Regions from separate parts of the Homo sapiens genome. Here region 1 is linked to region 2. The links are contacts of gene promoters, found by promoter capture Hi-C in human tissues and cell types (Jung and others, 2019). All regions are on one chromosome and are shown on one strand. The core of a region is centred on a gene start or on the middle of the fragment in contact, and the rest is flanking DNA. Distances in the headings are between cores, read along the strand shown. Region 1 overlaps SYNE1 (spectrin repeat containing nuclear envelope protein 1). Region 2 holds the start of SYNE1 (spectrin repeat containing nuclear envelope protein 1).

The links. The method cuts DNA at HindIII sites, captures the fragments that hold promoters and counts their contacts. A contact is called where the count stands out against the background at its distance.
Region 1: a contact is called between a fragment that was not itself captured here and the fragment with the promoter of SYNE1 in region 2, in 1 of the 25 tissues and cell types used here (hippocampus).

Annotation. Positions count from the first base shown.
Region 1 is chr6:152,458,307-152,463,795 of GRCh38, reverse strand. SYNE1 (spectrin repeat containing nuclear envelope protein 1) reads left to right here. Exons shown (of 146, transcript NM_182961.4): 19 at 279-443; 20 at 906-1,058; 21 at 2,056-2,199; 22 at 4,866-5,039. Among named protein-coding and RNA genes, the nearest start is that of SYNE1-AS2, 59 kb to the right of the region's middle. The HindIII fragment of the contact is 8,676 bases long and covers 1-5,489 here.
Region 2 is chr6:152,633,634-152,638,614 of GRCh38, reverse strand. It overlaps SYNE1 (spectrin repeat containing nuclear envelope protein 1), which reads left to right and starts at 1,253. Exons shown (of 146, transcript NM_182961.4): 1 at 1,253-1,426; 2 at 1,810-1,977. RefSeq lists an enhancer at 3,626-3,755. The HindIII fragment of the contact is 20,643 bases long and covers 1-4,981 here.

The sequences.
Region 1 (5,489 bases), core at 1,902-4,401, 180 kb after region 2:
TTTAATCTGTAAAACAGAAATAACAGAAAATGGTCATCATGTTTTGTTTTGTCTTCGGCAAATGATATGGCACAATTGTTCTTATAAAAAAAGACAGTATCTCTAGCTCACATTTTGAAACTTTTTATCAAAAATGTGCATTTTAAAGAGATTTGTGATTTATCTTAAAATTCACATGAATGTTAAAACAAAAATATTTTTCCTACTTTAGTCACTTTCATATCAGTCACTGATATTTGGTTTATGGTTTATGATATTGTGCATTATTTATTGTTTAGGATTTTTTTCGAAATTTACCTCATTGGATTCAGCAGCATACTGCCATGAACGATGCTGGCAATTTTCTAATTGAAACCTGTGATGAGATGGTTTCCCGTGACCTGAAGCAGCAATTACTGTTGCTAAATGGGCGGTGGAGGGAGTTGTTTATGGAAGTCAAGCAAGTATGTCTTTCAAGTCTATATACACCTCAACGTGTATGTGTTACAAATGTGATAAGTAGTCTGTTTAGAGAGAATGCTATTTTTAGAGCACGGGTTTATTAAGGCAAAGCATAGATATGTTTAAAACCGGTGTGTTTTATGGTTGGTTCTTCATTCTTTTCCATGTATAATGGAGGAATATTACACAAATGCATTAGTTTGATTAAGGATTATGTTGACATATGGAGCCTACTTATATGGAATGATTCTCGTTTCAAATCATATTTCTTCATTTTCATGCTAGTTTCTTTTTTTCTTTCAAACTAATTGGACTTACTTCAAATTTATCTAAAATGAGAATCAAAGATTAGAGTCTTTCTTACCGGATAACAATTCCAGCGAATATGTGAAAGTGAAAGTTGTGGTTCCAGTGGTCGCAGCTAAATGGCTTTCACGATGTTCCCTCCTCCCTTTCCTTAACAGTATGCTCAAGCTGATGAGATGGACAGAATGAAGAAGGAATACACAGACTGTGTTGTTACCCTGTCTGCTTTTGCAACGGAAGCCCATAAGAAACTTTCTGAACCCTTAGAAGTCTCTTTTATGAATGTCAAGCTATTAATTCAAGACTTGGAGGTGAGGGGTTTCTGAATCAAAATGAAAAGCCTACTCTGTTGTGAGAGGAAAGATCAGCAAGTTTATTCAGATCATTGCAAAAGCTGTTTCTGTGTCTCCTGGGCATCATTTTGACATGTCTGTATGTCCCAATTTGCACCTGTCAGAAAAAAATGTATTGAACATAAAAAAGACATGACTTGATCATATAAAGTAACTTCAAATTGTTTCTCAGTTTGGAGATTTTTTTTTTCTACAACCAAGTTAAAAAGTATTAGGAAAAAACAGGAGACATCTATAGATAGCACCCGCACCTAAATACTTTCAATAATAAAGGATTTATTGCATGAACTGTGGTATTTGCATATTTTGAATAGCCTGCAGCTCTCACAAATGAAGTAGTGGAAGAATTTTTAATGACATGGTAAGATTTTGCAATATATTGTTACATGAGAAAAGCAAACAACAGTATCATTCTTTTGTCTTTGTAAAAATTTTAAAATGGGTGTAAACACAGGAAAAAAAAACTTAATGATGTATAGATAAGATGTTGGCTTTGGGTTTTACTGTGGGAGAAGACTATAAGTAATTTAAATTGTCATTATCCTAATATTTCTAATTTATAAGTTTTTATAATGGCAATGAGTTACTTTTTTTTTTTTTAACGAAAACCAGTCTAATTTTTAAAGTCAGAATTCCCCCACATTTTAAATATACATTTACATTTTATTTTATATTTCCATACTACATTAACATGGGATTTGTTTTGGAAAGTACAAAGATCATTTCAGCTAATCTTGATGTTTTGGTCACTTTTAAAGGAAAATTTTATTAACTATATAATATTACCAATATTTATTAGTAATGAAGGGAAGCAAAAACTGGAATCGTCGAAAGTTTAGTGTAAGTATTGGATTTTATACAGTGCATATTGATTTTTGTTCTGCCTTCTGTGGAATCCGGAAGTTAAGAGGAAATGTGTCATGTATGAATCTGGCTGTTTCAATGATTCATGCAGGATATTGAGCAGAGGGTGCCTGTGATGGATGCCCAATACAAGATAATTACAAAGACAGCACACCTCATTACCAAAGAAAGCCCCCAAGAAGAAGGAAAAGAAATGTTTGCGACCATGTCAAAGCTCAAAGAGCAGCTAACCAAGGTGCGAAAATAATTTAATGCACAATAGGCTGTGTGACACCAACAGTGCCTTCAGCTTGCTTGCTACCTCCTTCTCCCCATGGGCAAAGTGTTTACTTGTTAACGATGCTTTTGTTTCTAATTGGGATTCTCAATTTAGTAACTTTGTCATGAATTAAAAAAAATAAAACTATGATGCTGATACCAAGTATTACCTCTGTTAATTTAGAAGTATTATAGCTATATTTTAATAGAAAGTTAGATACTTTTGGGGAACGGTTACATGTGATAAAACCAAGAGAGGGAAAGAGAGATAAAGAGAAAAAGGAGATGAGGAGGAGGAAGAAGAGGGGATCATAAATTTAAATGAGAATTGGTTAAGATTTGTTTGATATATCTCCACTCCAAACTTATTTGTGCAATTTTCTGCAAGCATAGCCACAAAGCTGTGGAAATTCTGACCTCCTCATCTCATGGAGCTCACTTAGGCTTAGAATATATACATTTAGGCCAGGTGCAGTGGCTCACGCCTATAATCCAGCACTTTGGGAGGCCGAGGCGAGCAGATCACAAGGTCAGGAGTTCGAGACCAGCCTGACCAACATGATGAAACATCGTCTCTACTTAAAAATACAAAAATTAGCCAGGCATGGTGTCGTGCACCTATAATCCCAGCTACTCAGGAGCCTGAGGCAGGAGAATCACTTGAACCCGGGAGGCAGAGGTTGCAGTGAGCCCAGATCGCGCCATTTCACTCCAGCCTAGGTGACAGGGCGAGACTCTTTGTCTCAAAAAAAAAAAAAAAAAAAAAAAAAAAAAGATTATATACATTTATACCTTTTCTGTACAGGGAACTAGATGGATGTAAGCACTAGTCATAAGCATTTTCTAGTCTATTCAGTGATTTTCCTTAAGAGCTTTGGAAGTTCCATTGGGATTTGTTATCTATCCAAATATGAATTTTAGGAAGATGGTATTGTTTGCAAAATCCACCTAGATTGGGTAATTAATTTCTAGTAAAAGAGAGAAGTGATTATAATAAATGAATGGAAATATTTTAAAATGAAGAATGGGAAAACAAAGTAGAAACAAAGTAGAAGACCCTGTTAAATAGGAAAGAAAGGTAGAAAGGAAGAGAATAACCTCTGTGACATCAGTGGTAGGGAATTAATGAAAAAGAATGCATTCAAAAAGCTAAAATAGGAAAAATCATGACCATAAAAAAGAGAAAATTTTATCTATCAATATGGTATGTATGAGAATGTTTATGTTCAGTTCATTTTATTTTAACATTCAAGTTAGAATTATTTATAATTTAAAGGTTGTGGGCAATAATGATAATATTGGCTACTAGTAAAAGCTGCTAAACAATAAGTACAATTTGAAGTCAACATTTCCAATTTGATAACTCCCCAGCAGCTTTCAGGGCCATAGCTGGGCTTGCACATCTTAGCCTGAGCCATGCTTAGGTGTTCAGGACAACCCCTGAGAAAGCAAATTGTCATTTGCCTTTTTACTGTTTCAGATGCAGCATCTTGATAGGTTTTCTCTTCTACCCAGGAGAGATCAATAAAACACACTGATTTGTATACACATTAGTAGACTCTCTTGGTTTTGTTCAAGGTAATTATATCAGAGTCTTGTTGCAGTAGCAGGATGGTAACTTTCTTTTGATGAGTGTATACTTCAGGCAGTATATCCTAGAACATAAAAACGTTTCTTCATACATAATTCTATGTTTAACAGTAGAGCAAAATGTTGCCCTCTCCCACTTTCTTCAAGGATTACTTTTTGGAATATGCCTCATCTGGTTAGAACATTATTGTCTTTATACTATATGAAAAACAAAGAATGGCTTACTAACAAATACTGATTAATTTCCTTTCCCTGGTTATCTGAAAGTATGAGAAGAGGTGGGAAGTTCTTGGAGGATGAAGAGTAGACACCTCCTGGAGCTCTTGATTTCCAGGAGCTAGTGGCCTCATCTTTAAGACAATGCAGGTCTATAAACTAAAACATGTTTTACAAGACAAGTGACAGGTAAGGGCTGCATCAGTTTGGACTACAGAGCCCTCCCCTAGCATGGGAAGCTTCATGAATAAATTGGTGTGACTTTAGTGCTTCGGATGAGTAGGATGTTGATAAGCAGGGAGCAGCAAAGCATGGAGCTGGTGGGAGGCAGGAAAGCACAGGCCTGTCTGGGAAGAGTGAGTCAACAGGTTTCTAAGTTTATCAGCAGTCAAGGGTTCAAGTAGGCGATCTCTTGAAAACAAAGCTGGAAGACACAGGTTGGTCTAGGTAATATAATAATAATTCATGACTGTCTTAGGTCAGATTTCAAGGCCAAAGTGAAAATGAGTTGCATGGTTTATGAAGTATAATTTGATGCCATCTGGCTCACTAAAAACAATCATTTAGATGAGAAAGTGCTATCCAGATGGACGATTTAGATGAATTTTCATGAGAAAACTCAGTAGCCATTTATTTGTCTCAGTGGTACAGCACTATTATTTTTCACAGCAAAATTTGACAATATAGAGGAAATATCATTAAAGAAATGTCTTTGGATATTTGTAAGCACCAAATGATCATGTCACTAAAGAAAATGTTCCTCAGAGCTATGAACGTTCCCTGAGCTAGTGGCACTTAATGGTCTTTCATGGAATTTTTGTCTTTATGTTTTTAAAGGTCAAAGAATGTTACTCCCCACTCCTTTATGAGTCTCAGCAGCTGTTGATTCCGTTGGAGGAATTAGAAAAGCAGATGACGTCCTTTTATGACTCACTTGGGAAAATCAATGAAATTATCACAGTTCTTGAGCGTGAGGCACAATCGAGTGCCCTTTTTAAACAAAAACATCAGGTGAGAACAATCCTTTTCAGGAGACAATTATTCTAAAGCATGTGTAACAAGACCAGGGTGTTGCTTACAGGAATAGAAATTCAGTGAGGACAAGAAACATTTTTCTAGAATAGTACTACTAACTCAAAACAAAAATACATGTCTTGTCCAAAGATGAAAATCCATTCACTGTCAGTGCAGGGGCTATGTGAGCTGTTTGTTTCCAGGGAATGGTCTAGCTGGACTCAGGTGCAAACCAGGCTCATTCATCTGAATCAGTAAGTTCACTGAGTTGAGCAAAGTTAGAAAAAATGGTTTGTTTTGAGCACCCAGCTCCCCTTTCTATCAATGGAGCAACATTGTGATCTGGCAATACTCAGCAAGCATTTATAAACATCTGCTGTGTGCACGCGTAAGCCATGCATCCTGAGCCCCAACTACAGAAAGTGCAAAGTTCACAATGTCTCTGTG
Region 2 (4,981 bases), core at 4-2,503:
TGGGGAACAAGAGCGAAACTCCATCTCAAACAAACAAACAAACAAAAAGAATGGCAAAGTTGGCACAATAACTTTCTACCCATCTTCAAAAGCCGGCAGGGTGGATTGATTCTATGAAGGTAGGGATTGAGAGGGTGAGCTGAGCCATTCTGATCTGTTTCTTCTGAGTGGCAAGCCTGGAAATCTGGACCCCATTTTGTGGCCACTGGGCACAGAGGGCTGACCTGGAATAATTATGCTCTGGTGGTTGTCTCCACAAGGGGCTCTGGGGGTGCCCCAGGATTGTTGCCCTCAGGCAGAGGCAGGGCATACATTGAGAGTGATCCCAAACACTCCTCCTCCAGGCCCAACTTTTGGAGGTAGCAAGTTCTGCAAATAGAGATCCATTGTTTGGTTTCTCTCTCTAAAAAAAAACAAAAGTCAGCACAAAGAAGAGGAACACATCAGATTGGTTTACCAGATTTGTTTCAGATGTTATTATTTTGACACGATCCAGAAGAAGGAGAATTTGAAGAAAATGGAAAGCTAGGCAGTGGGAATGTTGGCAGCAGGTAAGGGAAAGGCAGGCAGCAAAGAGAAACTTCATCTACTTTATAAACTGCTCCTTCCTTTCAGCAAATTTAGAGGATAAATGACTGTTTTGTTCAGATTGGAGATTCAAGGGGGGGATTATTACTTTTAAGATTATTGCAACATGGCTTCGATTATTTTAGCTGCAATCATCCTGTTGGACTTGGACTTCACTGTTGGTGAAGAGAGACTGTGTTTGACTTTGCCTGGATACCATAAAACCACAACAAAATAAATTCTCCTGAATGCTACCAGGCAACACCAAGATCTCTTACACCACGAGAAGGACTTGTGGCCAAAGATACAAATGGCTCCGCAATGTACAGGGTGCATACAGTGCACCTGAAGAACCTAAAAGTGGTTTTTAGAATCATCATAATAAACAGTCAAGAATTAAAGATGTCAAGCGCTTTCTCAAGAAGTCTAAACTTTATACATAACATTAAAAAAGATCTATAAAGCCTGACCAGTCTCCCTCAAATTAAGTTATTTGCTACTGACTTGGCAGCCAAAACGATTTAGGATCTTTCGGAAGTTGATGAAAAAGGAGCCAGCGGGTTTTGCTCTTTGCTCTGCATCACGCCCTTCCTGGGACCATCAGGGAACCTCCCAGCCTTTCAGGATAGGTTCCGCTCAGAAAGGTCACCCGGGCAGTGGAAACCGTGGGCAAAAGTTAGCTGGCAGGACAGCGCAGCTCCTCCAGGCAGCGGAGGCAGCGCGTCCCGGCTCTCAGGGACATTTCCTTCCCACCTCGACCCCCGGGAGGTGGTCCCGGTATAAAGGCTCGCTGAGCGGGTGGGTCACAGCACAGCTTTGCAGCTGCGGAGAAACGCCCAAGGCCGTGCATCTCCAGGAGGTAGGGAAGCCTGCGAGCCTCCGGGTCCCCGCCCCCAGCTCTTCCAGGCACCGGCGCATCCCGGAGCCGGGCGCGGGGCGCGGGGCACGGAGCCGGGGAGGGGGTGTGGCGGGCCAGGGCGGTGCAGGGACCCTGCCCAGAGGCTGAACCGGCCTGGGCGACCTTCCTTCCCGACAGGAGCAGTAGATGCGTGGGGGAGGGCGAAGGGGGAGGCCTCACCCCCCAGCGAGCAGCCGGGAGGAGGAACCGGTCGCGGAGGGCGGGGAGCGCGGCTGAGCAGCCCGGCGCGGGAGTGAGTGTGGGCGAGCCAGCCAGGGTGAGCGCGGGCGCCGGGCCGCGGCCGCCGGCCGCAGCGGGCTGAGATTGTTGTCCTCTGTCACCAGGGCGGCTGGGCTCCCGCAGTCCTGCAGACCGCGCCCGATCCCGGCGACAGGGCGGGCGGACAGCCGCGCATCCCCGGGGTCCCGCCGAGCCTGGGCGCAGAGAGCCGGGAGGAAGCGTTCGCTCGCTTCGCCTTGCTGCTGGGAAACTGAACGAGGCCGAGAGAGAAGGTAAAAGGAAAGACAGAGACTGGGAGACAGGGAGAGACAGAGACAGGGAGAGGAGAGAGAGGTGCAAGACGAACACATTGCAGACAAATTGTCAGCAAGTTTGTGCCTGCACGCTGGGGCTCTGCGTGCTTGATGGGAGGGGGTGGTGGCAGTGATGTGTGTACGTGTGCGATACTCATAGATAAGGAGACTAGGAGGTTGGGGAGCCTCTTTGCATCTCGTACGTAGATGTCCCTATTAATATCCCCCTCTCTGAGTTGTCATTTCCGCTTGTGGCACATCTCCTGGGCTCCAATGGTGCAGAAGCAAAAGGCAGCCAGCCTCTTATTGTGATGGTCGGTACTGTTGCTACTATCAGATGGGAGAGGTAGGGCGTTGAACAGATTCTAGGAGCCTCCCTTCCTCCACCCCCTGACTATTTTAGGAAGGGCTGGGGGAGGGAAATGGCTTGAAGGCTGCGCGGAGGCCCTGGCGCGTCAGACTCCAGCGGCGCTGTCATGGTGCAGTTGCTTCCCGGCAGAGCCTGCACTAGAGGGCAAGAGAACTTTCGTCTCCTCTTTATAAAGATACGTTTCACATAGAGAGATCTTGCATTGCTGGCGGAGGAGTTCTGGGAAATGGTGGTGCACAGGCGGCCAGGTGCATCCCAACGGGCAGGCATCCGTGCAAAACGAAGCAGCCATCAGCCGCACAGGAAGAAGCCCCTTGGGAAGGCAGGCTGGGTGTGCTGACTGGGATCCCAGACTTTGGATGCTGGAAGTTCTGCCCCCTTCCGTAAATAGAGTCAGGTCCAGCCCAGAGGGAAATATCAGCAATGAAGCCTTAGCATCCCACAATGTTCATTTCTGAGCTTTTCGTTTTGGGGTGGAAAACTTGTATCTGAAATGTTCCTGTGAATGTTAAGAAAGTTAAAAATGAATTATTTTTCTCTTCTTTAATGCCCATCCATTTTTTGTCTTCATCTGAGAATGACTTTCCTAAAGACAACATTCGTATACAGAAGCCAGACCTATGCAAGAGAAAGTATAATAATTTTCAATGAGGCAAAGGTCATTAATATGACCTACATCTTCATAAAATGCGAATTTAATCACGAGTCATGACGATTGTTCTTTGAGAGGCTTTTTATTCCCCATGGTGAAAAAAGATTTGTAGTATGGCTAAAAAGTTCCTGATATCACCGGAACAGTGTGACAAAATACATATCTATTTTTTCTTTTCTGTTCATTACTTTGTGGCAGATTTAGAACAAAATGTGAGAGATCTATACTAACTTAATATGTTTCATGCTGAAGATTAAGAAACAGCTTCAGACTGACCCAGATAACAATATTTGCTAGGCTTTGGAAATATTTGCCTAGCTCTTATTTTATAGTCTCACTTTCATCTTTCTGAACTAATGATTTTCACAAACTGGTTTTCTTCTGTCCTCATTGACCTCATTTAAGAACTCTTTTTTACTTGAGTCCTTCCTGCCAGGGAGAGGAGATTGGAAAAAGCTAGTTTGCCATTTAAAAATGTTCAAGAATTGTTTGGTGCTGCACTGGGCCTACTTTCTGATAACTATGCTGCACACACAGCATCTTGGAAATGAAAGGAGGTGTGACTGTCACAGGATGTAGGAAGCCCATAACTGGGCAAGGTTGGTGGCATTTTCACAACTCCAGCTCTAGCTACTGCAGCCACACCCTGTGGTCTGAATGTGACAGGCATGCAGGGCCCAAACGCCTCTGCGAGGTCCTCTGTGTGTCTCCTCTTAAATGTGTACTTCTTTGTGGTCTAATCTAACGAGAACTAATGTTTGGCAAGGTGTGCAATATACTGTAGCAAGGGAAAAAAAGAAGGTTGCAGATGTCTTTGGTTGTAATTTATACTTTAGGCTTACAATAAACAAAATTTAATTATGACACTGAACATCTTTCATGCTGATTTCTGCTATACACTTTGTCTTTTGCTTACTTGTTCATGTTCTTCTATGGAAAAGATCATTTCTTATTGTTACTCTGTATAATTCATACTAGTGAATAAGAAACAGCATTGTTCCCTGATAACCTGCACACATTTATTAGTAATATACTTACATTAATTCAAAGATATCCCTGTTCTTCTCTTTTAGCCATCTTAGTATTCATTAATTAGTACCATTATTAATGGGTGAATAGAGAAAAAAATAATTAAATTTAAAATTAAACAGTATGTGAACTCTCTTCAGCAAAAGACTTGAATAGAAGGGAAACTGAAATTTATTCATGACTAAAAATTTTATTCAATAGTGGGTTTCAATATTAGTGCTATTCTTATACATGTTTAGACATTTAATTAATATCTGTACTTCCTGCTGTTGTGAATCTGTTTATGTGTTTATGTTCTCAGTTCATTTTCTTTTTGGTTAGAAATGAGCCACGTTGTCTCTGGTCATTGCAGGGTTTGAAATTTTCTGCAGTAGTTTCCTAATACCTAGAAATTCAGTTGCATTGCTTATATATATTCTTGTGGCTCAGTAGTATTTCTTCAGTGCTTTTCTTAGTGTATTCCTTTTTAGTCACACAAACAAGAAACTGCTTTAAGAGCCAATGTCCATTCTGCCAAGAGACAGAAAAAATTGAGTTGTGCTATTTCACAACTGTGTTTTTTCACAGGGAGTGATGTTAAGAAGAGTATGCCTTTCAACTGGGAGCATCCCAAATAGCAGGTAGTCCAAATTCCTAAGAAGAGTATGCCTTTCAACTGGGAGCATCCCAAATAGCAGGTAGTCCAAATTCCTAAGAAGAGTATGCCTTTCAACTGGGAGCATCCCAAATAGCAGGTAGTCCAAATTCCTAAGAAGAGTATGCCTTTCAACTGGGAGCATCCCAAATAGCAGGTAGTCCAAATTCCTAAGAAGAGTATGCCTTTCAACTGGGAGCATCCCAAATAGCAGGTAGTCCAAATTCCTAAGAAGAGTATGCCTTTCAACTGGGAGCATCCCAAATAGCAGGTAGTCCAAATTCCTAAGAAGAGTATG